Regions from separate parts of the Homo sapiens genome. Here region 2 is linked to region 1. Evidence: promoter capture Hi-C in 16 types of primary human blood cells and fetal thymus (Javierre and others, 2016). All regions are on one chromosome and are shown on one strand. Each heading gives the region's core, a stretch centred on a gene start or on the middle of the fragment in contact. The rest is flanking DNA. Distances are from core to core; before and after follow the strand shown. Region 1 holds the start of POLD4 (DNA polymerase delta 4, accessory subunit). Region 2 overlaps KDM2A (lysine demethylase 2A).

Region 1 (5,947 bases), core at 2,835-5,334:
CTGTTTTCCCCAGCTCCACAATCTTGTTTTCCACCAACAGAGTAATGTTTTCGAAACATAAGCTTGACTCTGTCATTTATTGGCTTCAAGCCCTCCAGTATCCTCCCCTCTCACTCAGAATCAAATCCAGTTTCTTATCATGGCCCTAGGGACCAGCCCGCTGCCTGTCTGCCCTCAATTCCCACTACCCTTCCTCACTCCCTGGCCCCCAGCCTCACTGGCCTCCTCAGTGCCTTTCCTGGAGCAGGCTGGAAACACTCCTTCCTCAGGAAGCTTCTCCTTGTTGCTCCTTCTGCCTGGAACCCTCAGATGCAGACCTTGCTCCCTTCCTTCCTTCAAGTCTCTGCTCAAATGCCACCTTAGCAGAGGGCCTTCCCTGACCAGTCTCTCTAACATAGCGCCCCTGGCATCCTTGGACCCTTTCTGATCCCAACTCTGATTTTGCTTACTACTGACTGCTACCTGTCATAATTAACTTACGTGTTTGTTTTTGCCCATCTCCTGACCATTAGTAATACCCCAAGGGGACCTTTGGTGCCTGGCACATAGTGAGTGCTTAGCAGCTGGGCAGGAGGTATGGCATAGTCTGGAAGAGGTTAATGCAAGTGGCCCCTGGTCACTGCACTGCCTCTTGCCTGCTGTGTGCTTTTGGGCAACTTTACTTAACCTTTCTTAGTTTCAGTTCCCCCTCAGTAAAACCTACCTGGAAGGTTTTTTAGGAGGATTCGAGGTAATACATTTAAAGTACCTGAGACATGATCAGTGCTCAGACGGGGGCTACACAGGCCACTTAGCTGCCCTCTAGGCCTGTTTCCAAGAACTTACTAGTGCTGCCTCCATCTACCCCCAGGATAGAGGGCTGCCACAGTAGATGAAGGTAACACTATAGAAGCGGTTACTGACTCTATTCTCCATGTCATACCCTGACCCTGGGTCCCCTGGGCATTGTTTCTGGCTCCAGCCAGTTCTCCTCCATCCCCCAGCACCATCAGTTTCTTTTTTCTTTCTTTTTTTTTTTTTTTTTTTTGAGATGGAGTCTTGCTCAGTCGCCCAGGCTGGAGTGCAGTGGCGCGATCTCGGCTCACTGCAAGCTCCGCCTCCCGGGTTCACGCCATTCTCCTGCCTCAGCCTCCCAAGTAGCTGGGACTACAGGTGCCCGCCACCAGGCCTGGCTAAGTTTTTTTGTATTTTTAGTAGAGACGGGGTTTCACTATGTTAGCCAGGATGGTCTCGATCTCCTGACCTCCTGATCCACCTCCCTCGGCCTCCCAAAGTGCTGGGATTACGGGCGTGAGCCACTGCGCCCAGCCTTTATTTTGTATTTTTTTATTTTTTGAGACGGGGTCTCTCTCTGTCACCCAGGCTGGAGTGCAGTGATGCGGTCTCAGCTCACTGCCAGCTCTGCCTCCCGGGTTCACGCCATTCTCCTGCCTCAGCCTCCTGAGTAGCTGGGACTACACCTGGCTAATTTTTTGTATTTTTAGTAGAGATGGGGTTTCACCATGTTAGCCAGGATGGTCTCGATCTCTTGACCTCGTGATCCGCCCTCCTTGGCCTCCCAAAGTGCTGGGATTACAGGTGTGAGCCACCGCGCCCAGCCATCAGTTTCTTACCAAAGCCCCTCAGATGATGGTCATGTCTGAGCAGGTCCTGCAAGTTGAGACCCTCGCCAGCCCTGCTTTGGATCAAGGTGGCCCCCGATGTGGGAAGCCAGAGGTGCTTGCTGGGAATGTATAGATATGTTTGGACTTCATGAGCTATGGACCCCAGGGGTCCTTCTCTGGCAAAGCACCCATGTTTGTGAGGTGGGCACCGCTTAGCAAGGCAGGTGGCTGGCTAGTCAGGTAGGTTTTCCCTGGCTGCTCCAGAAGGTGAGTCATGAGTAGTTTCCCTGTGGGCCACCAGGGGGCACCAGAGGTCGCTCAGCTCTTCCGAGGACTTGATCCGTCTCAAGATGACTGTCTCCTCCCTCTTCGGCCTAGGACTTTCTTGAAGGAAAAGAGCTGTAGTGGTGCCTCTCTCATCTCCTAACTTGCTAGGGACTGCCAGTCAAAGCAGGGCCACAGTAAAGGACTGAAGGTCAGGATTCCAGGCTCAATATTCTTTATTGATAAGCATTAGTGAACCCCTTGCCCTGGGAGCTCAGCCAGTCCTGCTCTCAGATTCCTGGCCTTAGGTGGGAGAGCATCTTTTCCTCATGGATCAACTGTCCATGTCTGACTGTGCCTAACTTGCCAGATCATGGGTCAGGGAGACAGGCAGCAGGTATTGGAAGGTGATGGCCAGGTCCTTTTCCCCAGTGACCACTCTCCATCTAGAAGCACTCTGCTTCAGCTGCGCAGGCTCTTCCGGGGACTCTGGGAGCCTGCTGGTTAGATGGAGGAGTTGAGCCTCTGACACCTCCAGGTTCTGCCTGCCAAGGGTTCCTCCGCAGCCGGGCTGAGCTGAGCAGGAGCAATGGGCTCTCGCTTCTGTCCTGAGGTTCTTGGGTGGTGAGCAAGAGAGCTAAGGGCAGGAGGTCTTACGTGGTGCCTCATAGGGGATAGAGATGCCAGAGACTGTGGAAGATGGGGTGGGAGGGAGGGATACCCCAGAGAGAGAGAGAGAGAAACAGAGAATCAGTTGTTGAGTCCCTGGATCTGATTTCACCAGCTTATTCTTGGCCATGCCCATAGTCCTTGGGAAACCCCTCAGTTCTAAATAGATAGTTCCTTGGGTCCTGGGTGTACCTTTGCCCCCCACTAGCTTGTAGAGGTAAGAATTATTGGCCGGGTGTGGTGGCTCACGCCTGTAATCCCAGCACTTTGGGAGGCTGAGGTGGGTGGGATCACGAGGTCAGGAGATCAAGACCATCCTGGCTAACACGGTGAAACCCTGTCTCTACTAAAAATAGAAAAAATTAGCCGGGCGTGTTGGCGGGCGCCTGTAGTCCCAGCTACTTGGGAGGCTGAGACAGGAGAATGGCGTGAACCCGAGAGGCGGAGTTTGCAGTGAGCCGAGATCGCGCCACTGCACTCCAGCCTGGGCAACAGAGCAAGACTCTGTCTCAAAAAAAAAGAATTATTATAGTGGCGTGTCCTCCTGAGCCAGGCACCTCATAGAATCTTCTTGCCTGTTCAGCAAGGCCTTCCAACCCTCCATCCATTTCTCCCTCAGGTCAGGACAGCAGGGTGACAGTGCCTGGAGAAGGCCCTGGCTCCCCTGAAAGCCCTCCCGGCCTGTCTCTGACCTGCACTGGAAGCGGGGGTCTCCGGGGTGGGTCTTCAGCACCTGCCACACCTCTGGGGGAGGCTCCAAGCCCATCTGCTTGGCCCGACACCAGCGCTGCAGCCGTGTGATCCCTGCCAGGGTGGGAAGAAGACTCTGGAGACTTGTGGGGGGTGGGGTAGAGTCTGAGCTGGAGAATGTGTGTGTTGGGGGGAGACAGTTCCTGAGGGTCAGAGTCACGCAAGCGCTTGGGTGACTTCAGAGACGTGTGGGTGACTGGCTGGGAGAGGCGCCTCCGTGGGGCTGGGTGGGTTCTCACCGGTGCAGGGCCCGTACTGCCAGGCCAGGTCAAACTGCCTCAGCAGCTCCAGCTCCGCTTCCTCCTCGTCGCGGGGCTGGGGCTCCTCCCCTGCAATGACAGCTGCTCTTCAGTACGAGGTTGGCTTCAGTCTCCTGCCCCTCACCTCCCAGCCTTCCTCACCACCGCTTTGCCTCTGCCACCCCGCAGCTAGACCTGGTGTCGGGAGGGGAGGACAGGCCACCTTTCCCTTTCCATCGGCCCCTCCGCCCCTCTAGGGGCCTCCTCTAGGCCCCTCCGTGTCCACTCCTCCTGCCTCCCTCACACCTCAGAGACCTAGCTCGGGTGCCAGCTCCCCCTTGCTGTGCCCAGCGGGCCCCTCCCTCCTCTTCACAACCGGGTAGGAATCAGTGATGAGCCGCTTCCGGCCCATGGCGGCCACCCAGGCAGGCAGAGAAGGAGGCAACTGCGGGGAAGAGGAGAGACCGGCCAGTGGGCGCGAGAAAGACAGCTGCTGAGAGAGACAGACGGGGCCAGGCCAGCGGCGGGCAGACAAGATGACCCAGACAAACCGAGAGAGGAAGTCGCCGGGGTCCAGGGAGGGACGCCTCCCCCACCCCCAAAAGCACGCAAACAGGAAAGACTTCAGCCAATGGCAGGCCGCCTATGCGGGGCGGGGCCCTGGCGCTAGCCAATGGTAGGCAGTGTAGGGTGAGGGGCGGGGCGGTGCCTCAGCTGTGGGCCGCGGGAGGAGGGGCAGGCTGGGGCGGGGGACCTGTCGGGATGCCCCGACTTCACCACCTTCCCCGGCCCCCATTGGTCTGCTGTGGGTCCCGAGAGACTTCAGGAGAGTTATCTTCAGCCTCTCACTTCCCGTTTTCCCTTCCTAGGCAAATGTTCTTTTCAGCTTCGCTAATCCCCGTGGCCAGTTTGTAACTCCCTAGAGTCCAGCTGGAGCCTTCACTCGGTCCTTTGGCCCGCCCCGCCTTGTGGGGGCAGGTCTGGAGGTCTGAAGAGAGTTTGGGCTAATCCAGGCCCCTTCCCGGCTCCCACCCAACCCCCACTGGCCCCAGGAGACCTGGCTGGAGAAGCCCATGGGTTCTGAAACCTCCTTTCTCACAGTCTGTGCCCAAAGATGCTGCCCACTCTTAGTCCGAGTAAGTGTTTGCCGTTTTGACTCTCCTGGGGTCCCAAGTCGTGTCCGGCCCGCCCCACCAGTCAGGAAGATTCCATACTGAGTAGGAAGGCAGAGCAAGGGTCTGGTCCCCCCACCACAATGTGTTTGGATCCCTAGTTCTTCACTGGCAAAATCTGCCCTGTCTCTCACAATAATGTGAGTCTGAGCAGAAAATATTAATAATAAACCTAACACTCATTGCACGTACCATGTGCCAAGTACTGTTCTAAGCACTTTCCCACATGTTAATTAAAATAGATGTCAAAAAGTTTTTGAAAGTAGGAAGTATAGCTAAATGATTATCACTGCTGATAGTCACAGGCATTGTAGGGCCCCAATCAAACCACAGTCTCTCTTGCACCCCAGGAGCTCACTGTCACAAGGCAGACAGATGCACAGTTGTCAGTGAGAGGCTATAATTCCTACCAGAAGAGGGAAAGGGTGGGTCAGAGATTGGTTAGGACCACAGGGATGATTAGCATTGGAAGGCCTCCTGGAGGAGGTGGACTGCTGTAAACAATGTCTCTCAATTCTCCACCCATGACCTTTGTCCCTTGGGCTCCTGTCATCACTGACTCACCCATACTGCTGCCTCCCCCTCACCAACTTCCTGGCAGGAGGCAAAAGTACTGGCCAGTGGGAGTCTGGGAACCAGCACAGGGACCAGCCCAGCTCTAATCACCCTCCAGAGATCCCATCCGGTTCTTCCTTCCAGGGATACTGGGAGGGTGGGGCACAGACTCCTGGGCTGCTGCCTGCTCAGAGGCCTCTGCCTCCTCCTTTCCCTGCTCTGGGGTCTGGGTGTTCTGCACTGGAAGAGGGCTAAGCCACTGGTACACGTGGGCACAAGGGAGGAAGCTGCTCTGGAAAGGAGACCACCAGAGGGGAGGCAGAGGAGCAGGCCATGTCTTCAGGGTCCACGTCCTGCCTGGCTCTCCCCATCGGCGTCCTAGAGGAGGGAGCTTGTGGGGGCACTGCATGGAGCTGGAGGGCCCTTTCTGCTGTATTGTTTGGGCTGGGCCTAGTCTAATCCCCCCATCTGCCTTGCGGACTAAGTGGGGCCCACATTCAGGGAGACAGTGTCCCTGCGGAGTTAGTGATGGAAGCAGGGAGGCCCTGTCTACCAGGGCTGGGAAGGGCCTAGGTGCTGAGTCCAGTCAGGTGCTGAGCATGCTAGGTAGGGATGGCGTCTAGGCTCTGGGGGATTGACTACCCCTCCCCAGAGGGTCTTGGCAAGGGTTCCTGGGCTGTTTCCAGAGGTGTGT
Region 2 (6,401 bases), core at 3,614-6,113, 100 kb before region 1:
TCATGCCACTGTATTCCAGCCTGGGTGACAAAGCGAGACTCTGTCTCAAAAAAAAAAAAAAAAAGCAGCCATTGATAATACATACACAAGATGAGTTGTGTGTCAATAAAATTTATTCTAGAAACAAGCAGTGGGCAGATCTGGCCATAGTGGGCCAAGCCCCAGGCTAGGTATGCTACCATGTAATCTTCTACCCTATCCAGTCTTAAAGCAACCTGATATATTTGACCTCACTGCTTTCTCTTTCCAGCTTAAATTCCCCACTCGGCCAAAGGTGCGGGTTCCTACCATCCCCATTACGAAGCCTCACACTATGAAACCAGCTCCACGGTTAACACCTGTGAGGCCAGCTGCTGCCTCCCCGATTGTGTCAGGAGCCAGACGGAGACGAGTGCGATGTCGAAAATGCAAAGCCTGTGTGCAAGGAGAGTGTGGTGTTTGCCACTACTGCAGAGACATGAAGAAGTTTGGGGGGCCTGGACGCATGAAGCAGTCCTGTGTCCTCCGACAGTGCTTGGCAGTGAGTGATCTGCTGGGTAAAGAATTTTGGGGAGGGGTGGCAGTGCCAAAGGAACTGAAATACATATAGTGTAGAGTTAAAGAGACTTCAGAGTTGGAAAGAAAAGGTTTATACTCTCTTTTTGGCTTTATTTTGTACCTTTTTTCCCCAGGTTTAGATAGAAGGTATCTAGTACTAAAAATCCGATTTAATCTTTAGGCTTTACCTAATTTTCAAACAAGAGATTAGCATTTGAAGGGCAAATCATTGCTTTCTTTCCCCTCTTCAGGTAGATTAGAAAGGACCGGGGAGGCCAAGTATAGGCCAACTGAAAATAAACTAGTCTCTGGTGCCCAGGTGGTTGAGTCCTCCTCTTCCCCAGTCATTTTTCCTACCCAAAACCTCCGTTCTCTCCACCCTGCCTCCATGCTTCCAGGTGTTTAGTAGAGAATTATAGGACCCAAATCTCCCATCTTCAGTTTAAGGGAAACTGAAATGATAAAGATCTGAGTCAGTTCTCTTGGATTCTATCTTTGTCCTCTTGTAGCCCAGACTGCCTCACTCAGTCACATGTTCCCTCTGTGGAGAGGTGGATCAGAATGAAGAGACACAAGACTTTGAGAAGAAACTCATGGAATGCTGTATCTGCAATGAGATTGTTCATCCTGGCTGCCTCCAGGTGAGGAGAGCTATGAGGGGTTCCTGAAGTCTCAGCTAATGGAGTGAGTGACACAACAGAATGGGACACTTGTGATGGGAGTGCCAGCATCCCTACTGTAGGCCATCAGCTCTGTGGTCACATAATGCAGTGGTCTAACATCAGCCCTTGATTCATATATGTACAATGTGTCAGGCACTGCGTTAGACCCTGAGGATAGAACAGTACACAAAATAGACCCAGTTCCTGTCCTCATGGAGCTTAGAATCTGGACTCTGGATTGGGTATGTAGAGTTCCCAGGCCATAATGGAACTGCATGGTGTGTTTTGGGATGCCTCAAGCCTTTAGGCATCTCTGATACATACTTCAGTGTACCTCTGGATATTAGTTCCTAAGGGAGAGTGAGGATAATAATATCAGATAACATTTAATGAGTGCTGAGTCTGTATCAGACTCAGTGCAGAGCTAAATAGCTTTAAAAAAAAAAAGTAATAAAAAGTAATAAATTCAGATCTCAGCCTCAGAGATTGAGTCCAGCATGGGCCTTGTGTTCCAAAAGCTCCCCTACTGATCCGAATTGTGCAGCCTTTGTGGAGAACCACTGTTTCCTTGGCCTTCTTAGAAAGTATCAGCTAAAATCATGACTGTCGCCTGACAGTGATAATAAGACACTGTCATTCATGAGAAGCAGCCCAATTTCAGAAAGGTTAAAATGTGAAAAGTATACCTTTTATAGATTTTTGGTTTTTTTGAATACTATATAGTAGCAAATCTATAACAGAAACAATAGTAGGTCAGTATTTGGAGGCATTAAGCATATGTTGAATGAAGAACCGGGTTTTTGTTTTGTTTTGTTTTTGAGACATAGCCTTGTGTTGTTGCCCAGGCTAGAGTGCAGTGGCACGATTATACATTTATTCATTTAATGTTATAAATTATTTTATATATATATATATATATATATATATATATATATTTTTTTTTTTTTTTTTTTTTTTTTTTTTTTTTTGGAGACAGAGTCTTGCTCCTTTTGCCTAGGCTAGAGTGCAGTGGCGTGACCTCGTCTCACTGCAACCTTTGTCTCTGGTGTTCAAGTGATTCTCCTGCCTCAGCTTCCCTAGTAGTTGGGATTACAAGCACGTGCCACTGCGCCCAGCTAATTTTTGTGTTTTTAGTAGAGATGGGGTGTCACCGTGTTGGCCAGGCCGGTCTCGAACTCCTAACCTCAAGTGATTCACCCGCCTTGGCCTCCAAAAGTGCTGGGATTATAGGTGTGAGCTACCGCACCCAGCCTGATTCTTAGGATATTTTAACAGCATTACAATCTTTTTTTTTTTTTTTTTTTTTTTAAGACATGGTCTCCCTCTGTTGCCCAGGCTGGAGTATAGTGGTGAGATTTTGGCTCACTGCAGCCTCCATCTTCTGGGTTCAAGCAATTCTTCTGCCTCAGCCTCCTGAGTAGCTGGGATTACAGGCATGCACCACCATGCCCAGCTAGTTTTGTGTTAAGTAGAGTTGGGGTTTCACCATGTTGGCCAGGTTGGTCTTGAACTCCTGGCATCAAGTGATTTCCCCACCTTGGCCTCCCAAAGTGCTGGGATTACAGGCGTGAGCCACCATGCCCGGCCAACTTTACAATCTTAAAAGTTTGTTTGATTAATTATAACTTGGTGAAGATGTAAATGGTGCATATTACATCTATTAACATATCTCAAACCCAAAGAATTGGTGAAATAGGGTATTAATTCCATGATGATGATAATGGCTAATACAAAGGGTTTTCTGTATGCCATACCTTTGTTAAATTCTTTACACAATGAATAATCTTCACCACAACCCTATAAGGTGGGTTTTGTTGTATCTCTGGCAATTATATTGTTGTATCTCTGTGTATTAGTTCCTGAGGGAAAGTGAAGGTAATAATATCAGCCAACATTTTACAGTGGAGAACACTGAGTCACAGAGACTAGAGCATTAGTCCCTAAACCCAAGCTATCAGAACCTGTGCCGCACTGTCAAGATCAGGTTCAGCACCATTGGCTATTTGGGGCTGGATTGCTCACAGTTTTTCTCCCTTTATGGACCAATGTTGTTGAGAAATGAGTAACTCTTCCCAACTGTGTTATTGTTGGATAAAGGAAGCTTGAGAGACAGGCTTTTAAAAACATCTCTGTCTTCCTATAGATGGACGGAGAGGGGTTGCTTAACGAAGAATTGCCAAATTGCTGGGAATGTCCAAAGTGCTACCAGGAGGACAGCTCGGAGAAAGCCCAGGTAAAGGAACCTTATCAGATTTGCACTGTGACAGAAAGGAGGCATCAAATGTGGGGGATTGCTACACGTTTGCCTTTGCATTAGTGTTCACACAGTTTCTCTGACCTAGGAGATTATTTTTGTTTGGTTTGGTATGTTTTTCCTTTGGTTAATTTTTAGTATTTTCTTTGTTAGAGTTTGTAGCATTGTGTTTTGTATTACTAAATGTTGTTCCACTTGGGATCTGCAAATTCCTAAGGTCCTTTTATACTCTGGGGCCCTACAAAGAGAGGAACCACGGCTGGGCTATTTGAGGAGAGAAATTAGGTGAGTATGATCCCTCCTGAGGAATGTTAACTAGAGGAGAGGCAGTGGCCTGAGGCAGCCAGTGAGTGCAGCAGTGTACTTGAGCTTCCAGTTAAGCAGGTTCACATTTTTGTCATCTTCACTTTTGTGGCCTGGCAGAAAGCCCTGCCCTGCCCATCCCACATGCCCAAATGTGTCATGTGGAGGCAGCCCCTCCCCCAGAGAGGACCAGTGCTATGACCTTGGCCCAGAGGAGCTGAGGTTGCTGACCAGTGGTTGCCAATAATGTCAAAGGGCCAAAAGGACTGTACTTACTCAGGCTGACAAGGCAAGACCAGCTGTGGACACCTACAGGAGGAGATGGCTTTCCAAGTGCCAGTCTTTCAAGGACCCTTGCACGGGAGCAGGGAAGGGGGCAGAAAGGAATTTTCTTACTTTTTATTTCTTCCCACTTGGATACTAAGATAGTTGAATTTTTCAATCTATTTGTCTTTGAGGGCAAGGATTTTTGAAGTTGACTAGGGCCAAAGTTCTCCTTAGTTCTTGCACTAGTGACCTTTACATGTGTCTTCATTAGTGATGTTGAGTGTTTGCATCTCTGCTGTAGCAGATGTGTTGTTGGCAGATGGCTGTGTTTTAGTATTACCTTCTAATACATTGGAAAAGGTAGCACCCAAAAGGTGGTCATTTTCTTCCAACCATAATGATAAAAAAATGTAAGGAGGAAAAGGAGCAGAGAACAGGGTTGTTGCTTAGAGACATAAAATGTCTCCTTGCAAAAAACCTGAACTACTGATACGGTTCCTAGTGGAACATGTTTACTGGGCTTTGTCATAGCATAGTCATAGTGGGCTCCAGGAAAAGACAAGTATCTAGAGAGCACAAATGCCACAGATAAAGTTGGGGGCTCTTGTGGGATTCCTCACCATAATCCTGAGTGAATCTCTCTGTAGCAACCCAGTTTCTCAGAGAGGTTCTTGTTATCTGCTTTATTATTCACGTGGGGGTTGGAGTGGAAGACGCAGCCTGGTGGAGTCAAACTTAGACTGTGGTAGAGCTAGAAGCCAATGGTGTTTACCATTGTCAGACTCAGGATCTTAGTTCAAATGGTATATGTGGGCTTTTTCCACCATGAAACAGAAATACGTCTCTTGGGTGAAAGAGGTAAGTCAGAGACGCAATTAAAAATGGTCAGGCCAGGTGCAGTGGCTCACACCTATAATTCCAGCACTTTGGGAGGCCAAGGCAGGTGGATCACTTGAGCCCAGGAGTTGGAGACCAGCCTGGGCCGACTCTGAGGGAATGACCCCCTCTCCAACGTGACCTTTCTTCTCTCTGGTCCCCTGAGAGCAAGGGAGGTCCACCCTGTCGGTTCAGAGGGTTTGGAAGAAAGGAAGCACTGATGTTGCTTTTCTGGGCCTGTTTTGCAGAAGCGGAAAATGGAAGAGAGTGACGAAGAAGCTGTGCAAGCCAAAGTCCTGCGGCCCCTGCGGAGCTGCGATGAGCCTCTCACGCCCCCGCCTCATTCACCCACTTCCATGCTGCAGCTCATCCATGACCCGGTTTCCCCCCGGGGTATGGTGACTCGGTCATCCCCTGGGGCTGGCCCCAGCGACCACCACAGTGCCAGCCGCGATGAGCGCTTCAAACGGCGGCAGTTGCTGCGGCTGCAGGCCACAGAGCGCACCATGGTACGGGAAAAGGAGAACAATCCCAGCGGCAAAAAGGAGCTGTCTGAAGTTGAGAAAGCCAAGATCCGGGGATCGTACCTCACTGTCACGCTACAGAGGCCCACCAAAGAGCTCCACGGGACATCCATTGTGCCCAAGCTGCAGGCCATCACGGCCTCCTCTGCCAACCTTCGCCATTCCCCCCGTGTGCTAGTGCAGCACTGCCCAGCCCGAACCCCCCAGCGTGGGGATGAGGAGGGGCTGGGGGGAGAGGAGGAGGAAGAGGAGGAGGAGGAGGAGGAAGATGACAGTGCAGAGGAGGGGGGTGCAGCCAGGCTGAATGGCCGGGGCAGTTGGGCTCAGGATGGAGACGAAAGCTGGATGCAGCGGGAGGTCTGGATGTCTGTCTTCCGCTACCTCAGCCGCAGAGAACTTTGTGAATGTATGCGAGTGTGCAAGACGTGGTATAAATGGTGAGCAGGGATTCAGGGGGTCAGGAATTAGGGGTATGGGAGTAGGTGGCAGGTTTTCCATATGAGAACAGCATGCACCTTGGCATCTGAAAGCCTGTGGGGTCTTATGAGGAGTGAATTGACCCTTTTTCCCAAACTTTGGGTCCTGTTTAAAGATGTAGCCTGTTGTACCCGCAGATGTCATTAGGGAACTGGCCATTTGCCTCCTGGCCCTGCTCTATACTTTCCCATGTCTCATTGTTATGGGGAGGGAGACTGATTTGCGGGATAGATTTGTAGTCTGTGATAAAACTTGAGAGTCTTGCGGGCTGAAAATTTCCTCCTCAAGTCAGCTGAACTCATCACATGTTGGTTGAGAGCCTATGATGTTCTAGTCACTCTTCTGGTGCTGATAACACAGATAACCTCACTTAAGCCCCTGACTCAATTACCTCTCCATTCAGTGAGAGAAGTGGGCATGCTTTTCAAGATGAATTTGAAGGTGCTTAACATTTTTCTTCAGTTTTAATGCTCATCCCCCCAAACCTGGATCAGAATTCCC

What was found. The method cuts DNA at HindIII sites, captures the fragments that hold promoters and counts their contacts. A CHiCAGO score of 5 or more calls a contact.
Region 2: a contact is called between a fragment that was not itself captured here and the fragment with the promoter of POLD4 in region 1, in 2 of 17 cell types (total CD4 T cells and non-activated CD4 T cells). The highest score is 6.1, in total CD4 T cells.

The regions. Positions count from the first base shown.
Region 1 is chr11:67,349,462-67,355,408 of GRCh38, forward strand. It overlaps POLD4 (DNA polymerase delta 4, accessory subunit), which reads right to left and starts at 4,085. Exons shown (of 4, transcript NM_021173.5): 1 at 3,842-4,085; 2 at 3,527-3,616; 3 at 3,230-3,341; 4 at 1,311-2,558. The coding sequence starts at 3,938. The coding sequence ends at 2,534. The region is part of intron 2 of LOC100130987 (a long non-coding RNA gene); the gene reads left to right. RefSeq lists enhancers at 2,765-3,347, 3,348-3,929, 3,923-3,972 and a silencer at 4,153-4,402. The HindIII fragment of the contact is 23,887 bases long and covers 272-5,947 here.
Region 2 is chr11:67,244,939-67,251,339 of GRCh38, forward strand. KDM2A (lysine demethylase 2A) reads left to right here. Exons shown (of 21, transcript NM_012308.3): 14 at 251-520; 15 at 1,047-1,178; 16 at 3,343-3,432; 17 at 5,148-5,860. Among named protein-coding and RNA genes, the nearest start is that of GRK2, 18 kb to the right of the region's middle. The HindIII fragment of the contact is 3,131 bases long and covers 3,299-6,401 here.